Linked DNA regions of Homo sapiens: region 2 is linked to region 1. The links are contacts of gene promoters, found by promoter capture Hi-C in human tissues and cell types (Jung and others, 2019). All regions are on one chromosome and are shown on one strand. The core of a region is centred on a gene start or on the middle of the fragment in contact, and the rest is flanking DNA. Distances in the headings are between cores, read along the strand shown. Region 1 holds the start of ENPP7 (ectonucleotide pyrophosphatase/phosphodiesterase 7). Region 2 has its middle 7.7 kb from the start of CBX2.

Region 1 (2,700 bases), core at 173-2,672:
CCCTAGGGAGGGCCAATTGCTTTTCAATTCTCTAACACCTTTTTTGTGGTACTTGGCTTTTTATTATTTTATTATTGTTTGTTTTTTTGACACAGGGTCTTGCTCTGTCACCCAGGCTGGAGTGCAGTGGTGTGATTGCAGCTCACTGCAGCCTCTACCTCCTGGACTCCAGCAATCCTCCTGCCTTGGCCTCATATATATATATATGTGTGTGTATATATATATATATATACATATATATATGTATATATATATGTATATATATATTATATGCAGTCTTGCTTTGTCACCCAGGCTGGAGTGCAGTGGTGCGATCTCAGCTCACTGCAACTTCCACCTCCTGGGTTCATGCAATTCTCCTGTCTCAGCCTCCCAAGTAGCTGGGATTACAAGCATGCACCATCATGCCTGGCTAATGTTTGTATTTTTAGTAGAGATGGGGTTTCGCCATGTTGGCCAGGCAGGTCTCGAACTCCTGACCTCCAGTGATCCGCCCGCCTCAGCCTCTCAAAGTGCTGGGATTACAGGCGTGGGCCACTGAGCCTGGCCCCATATTTGGCTTTTTAAAAACCTATGTCTGTATTGTCTACAGCCTGGGCAGATCTGTCAGGGAGGTGTTGGGTGGAAAATGGAAAGGATGGAAGGGAGAGGGAGAGGCTGACACAGCCAGCTGGAGGGGCGGGCAGGGGAGGGGAGCCATGGGAGCCAGCGGGGAGCCCGCCACACTCCCCTCCTCCTGAAGCCTTCTGGGGTTGCTGCCCTGGCTGTGGCCACGGGTTTAAGGACCCCCCTGGTCATTTTTCTTTGTCCCGGATCTGTTGCTACCAACGGTGAGGATTCCTAATGGTCCCCTTGGCTCTGTCCTGTGCCTGGAGCAAGGACCTCTCCCCTTTATCCTGCACGACACGGCTCTGTGCCATCTGGTTTCTCAGGCCCTCCCACCCCCAGGCCCCGTCACAGGGCAGTACTCACCGGTGACCAGGGTGAAGTGGCAGGGGCTGGTCATGGTGACAAAGGCGGGGGTCATGTAGCGTGCCTTCACCCCGTCTCGGGCCATGGCGTCCAGGTTGGGGGTGTCCACGTCCTGGTCGTAGTTCCAGCGGAAGCCGTCGAAGGACACCAGGAGCAGCTTGTTCTGGGAGCCCTGACTTTGTACCGGTGCTCCGGCCCCGGGAGCCAGGAGCGTGGCCAGAGCCACAGTGAGGAGGACGGCCGGGCCTCTCATGCTGGGCCTTCCAGATGGACAGGCACACAGGGTGCACAGGGCTGGCTCCTGCCGAGGAGGACAAAGTCCCAGGGTCACCCGGGCTGATCTCATCCCGTGCGCCTTTGGAATGTGGCTGTGCACATCCCCGGGTCGAACCTCGGGAGTGGGCTCCCCAGCCGTGTCAGTGCCACCCCTGGTCCCAGCCTCACGTGCGTGGGGTGGCATCAACTTGAGCATCTGCCTTTATTGCCAGCCGCGCCCTTGGTGCTCCAGGCTCCTCCCCTCCCTCCCCAGAGTGGGGACAGTGACCCAGGGCTCAGAGCACAGCAGGAGCCCATTCCACTGGGAAAGTCGTGCCCTCTCCCTCTCCCATAGCAACAGGTGGTCCCTCTGTCCCAGCTCACCCTGACCCCAGGGGACCCAGGTGAGGCTGGGGTGGGACCCCCTCTCCAGGCCTTTAGTGGTGCATGGGCCTCAGGCCTGCCTGGGTGAGGGCCTGTGGGGTGGGCTTCCCATGGTCAGGGCCAGGACCAAGCCTGGGTCACAGCATGGCCTTGTCCGGGGGGAACCCCAGGCTGGGTGCCTGTTCTCCTCCTGGTCCTGTTAAGGGGCTCCTTGAGCGTGGTGAGCAGACCGGGAACCGGATGGCTCCAGACCAGCGTCCTGTGGGCCTTCCTTCTTGGGATGCTTCCTTCTTGGGATGCTTCCTTCTTGGGAATTTCAGAGGGTGCCTGGGGCTCGGACGTTCTTGCTTGATGACAACAAGGGGTCAGAAGAGGGGGACTCCCTTGTTACCATAGGCACATGAAGGGTGGGAGAGGAACCCCTGGATTCAGTGTGCGGTTCTCCCTCCCTCTCCCCCATCTCTCCTTCCCCTTCTCTTATTTTCTCTCTCTTTCTCTGTCTCTCTCCCTCTTTCCTTCCCTGTATGTCTCTGTCTCAGTTCCTATTAAGCACGTTCTGTGTGCCAGGCATGGTTCTAGGTTCTGGGGACACAGAAGTGAATGAGACAGACAATGTTCCTCGTGGCCTCCATTCGAGTTGGGGACACAGAAGATAAAATGAACAAACAAGAAAAAAAGAGTTTCCCAAAAGAAGGGAAGGCAGGAAGACGTGATGGAGAGGCTGGCGGGGTGGGTGGGCGGCACGCAGTGGTGGCTGGTGGGGTTTCGCTGAGAGGATGGTGGAGGCCAGTGACTCTGGGGGACCATGAGCTAGGGGAGCGGGCATGGGGCAGGTGGCAGGGGTGGCAGGGCCAGTCCCGTAGGGCAGGTGGCGGTGATTCTCATGCCAGGCAGTGGAAGCCAGGCGGGGGTTTTAAGCAAGAGAGTGACATGAACTGATCTAATGCTAAAATATACTCTCCATTTGTGGGTGAAGGATAGACCAGAACGAGGGCAGAATGGACACTGGGTGCTCCCTGGAGAGGTGACTGCCTGTGTCTGAGCAAGAGCTATTGGTGGCCCGGACCAGGGTGGTGGCTGTGGGATGGG
Region 2 (2,700 bases), core at 120-2,619, 40 kb before region 1:
TCTCTATAGAAATGCTGTATTGCCCAGGCTGGAGTGCCGTGGCACGATCTTTGCTCACTGCAACCTCCACCTCCCAGGTTCCAGTGATTCTTCTGCCTCAGCCTCCCGAATATCTGGGATTACAGGCACGCGCCACCATGCCTGGCTAATTTTTATATTTTTTAGTACAGACGGGGTCTTGCCATGTTGGCCAGGCTGGTCCCGAACTCCTGAGCTCAGATGATCCACCCGCCTTGGCCTCTCAAAGTGCTGGGATTACAGGCGTGAGTCACTGCACCCAGCCATGATGCTAATTTTTTTTTTTTTTTGGAGACAGGATCTTGCTCTGTTGCCCAGGTTGGAGTGCAGTAGTGTGATCATAGCTCACCACAGCCTTGACCTCCTGGACTCATGTGATCCTCTTGCCTCAGTCTCCAAGGTAGCTGGGGTTACAAGAGGTGTGCCACGAGACCTGGCTACTATTTTTATTTTTATAGAAATTGGGGGTCTTACTGTGTTGCCCAGGCTGGTCTTGAACTCCCGGGCTCAAGAGATCCTCCTGCCTTCACCTCCCAGAGGGCTGGGGTTGCAGGTGTGAGCCACTGTGCACCGAAATGATGTTAATTTAACTCACAAGGCACAGAAGCGTTTTTGGCAGCCTCAGCTCCTATGGCCTGGCGTGTCCTCGCTGGACTCTGTGTATTTGGAAAGAATGGGCTCCTGATGCTGGCAGGGATGGCTACTGTCTTTTGAGGCACGTTTATAGGATATTCCTCCTTGAAGCTGAAACCTTGTACTTTCCATGTCCCTGCTGCATCAGCAGGAAAGGCTGCCACTGACCTCACATTCATATTTCTTTTTTTTTTATTATTATTATTATACTTTAAGTTTTAGGGTACATGTGCACAATGTGCAGGTTAGTTACATATGTATACATGTGCCATGCTGGTGTGCTGCACCCATTAACTCGTCATTTAGCATTAGGTATATCTCCTAAAGCTATCCCTCCCCATATTTCTTTTTCTTTTCTTTTTTTTTTTTTTTTTTTGAGATGGAGTCTAGCTCGGTCGCCCAGGCTGGAGTGCAGTGGTGCTAGCTCAGCTCACTGCAACCTCTGCCTCCTGGGTTCAAGTGATTCTCCTGCCTCAGCCTCCCGAGTAGCTGGGATTACAAGCGTACACCACCACGCCCAGCTAATTTTTATATTTTTAGTAATGGAGTTTCACCACGTTGGCCAGGCTGCTCTCAAACTCCTGACCTCAAGTGATCCTCCCACCTCGGCCTCCCAAAGTGCTGGGACTACAGGCATGAGCCACTGTGCCCGGCCTCACATTCATATTTCTTTGGGTTCAGTACAAGTTGCATCCTGCGGTCACTGCCTTTAGAGGCCCCTGTCCTGTGTGAATGCTGCTTATGGGGACATGTGCCCCCCAGGATGGCGAATCTCAGCCCTCTGAAGCAGGGGAAGTAAGACAAAGTAGTGAGATTGCATCCAGAGAGGAACGGGCGAGGGGAATTCAGGATTGAGGCGTGGTCATGAGTCCTTCTCACACTGCTCCTGGCAGCGCTATGAGAGGTGGTGGCACAGGACATTTGTAGGATGCCCTGGAGGAGAAGGGCGGGCAGGAACTGGGCCAGCAACGATGACAAAGCACAGTCTCCAGCCACAGGAAAGCAAAGGGAATGACAAAAGTACTAGCAGAACCCCCAGCCCAACCTAGACCACGGGGTGCTCCAGAGAAACAGCCAATAGATAGAAATATCAGCATTCAAAGAGATTTACTGAAGGCACTGGCTGATGTGATGGTGGGGTCTGGTGAGGCGAGTCCCAAACTGCAGAGCAAGCCTTCCTCAGAGGCAGCCGGGGCGACTCAGACAGGAGCTGGCGCTGCGGTCCACAGGCGGAGTTGCTTCTTTTCAATGAATTGATCAGACCCACCCAGATTATTCGGGGTAAGCTCCTTCACCTCAAGTCACAGCAGCGACTGGATTTGCGTTTGCCTGAGTACCTGGGGGCTGTGGCCTAGCCGGGGAGAACACCTTAGCCTGACGGATCATCCTTGGGCTCAGCTCCTCAGTGCTCCTGCTGGTCATGCCGGCGTCACTCACATGGCTTCGGCTTGGCTGGGGCTGGATGGCCTGGGATGGCCTTTCTTGCGTGGCTGGTGCTTGGTGCTGGTTGTTGGCGGGGCTGTCTGTCTGCAGCAGGCCAGCGTGGATCCTTTCTTCGGTGGTTCCAATGGAAGCTGGGGTCCCATGTTTGCTGACGTCCCAGGGGCCACAGCAAGTTGCATGGAAGCCATGTGAGGTAAACTCCAACCTCTTGACCAGAGGAGTAGCAAATGAGTGACCATACAGGATCTGGAAGAATTTGTGGCCACTTTGGGGGTCATTTGTACCCTCTCCAGAGGGCAAGATCAGAAAACAGTTTAGCAGCCACTGAGCCTAGCACTGCTTGGATTGTGTTAAATGAGTGGAAGATTCTTAATTTCCTAGACTTGCAGGATGGGGCACTGGCTATTCCCGTCGTGTATTTCCTCCGGCTGCCACAACAAAGTTCCATGCCCTGGGAGCCCTTCTAGGGGCTCCCAGAAGTTAATTTTCTCACAGTTCTGGAGGCTGGAAGTTTTAGATCAAGATGTGGGCAGGGTTGGTTTCTTCTCTCCTTGGCTGTAGACGGTGTCTTCTCCCTGCGTCCTCATAGGGTTGTCCCTCTGTGCA

Evidence for each region. Contacts are between HindIII fragments. The study calls those that stand out against the background at their distance.
Region 2: a contact is called between a fragment that was not itself captured here and the fragment with the promoter of ENPP7 in region 1, in 6 of the 25 tissues and cell types used here (IMR-90 fibroblasts, aorta, dorsolateral prefrontal cortex and 3 more).

What each region holds. Positions count from the first base shown.
Region 1 is chr17:79,729,665-79,732,364 of GRCh38, reverse strand. It overlaps ENPP7 (ectonucleotide pyrophosphatase/phosphodiesterase 7), which reads right to left and starts at 1,422. Exons shown (of 6, transcript NM_178543.5): 1 at 973-1,422. The coding sequence starts at 1,225. RefSeq lists an enhancer at 2,623-2,700. The HindIII fragment of the contact is 31,927 bases long and covers 1-2,700 here.
Region 2 is chr17:79,769,131-79,771,830 of GRCh38, reverse strand. No RefSeq gene overlaps it. Among named protein-coding and RNA genes, the nearest start is that of CBX2, 7.7 kb to the left of the region's middle. The HindIII fragment of the contact is 8,360 bases long and covers 1-2,700 here.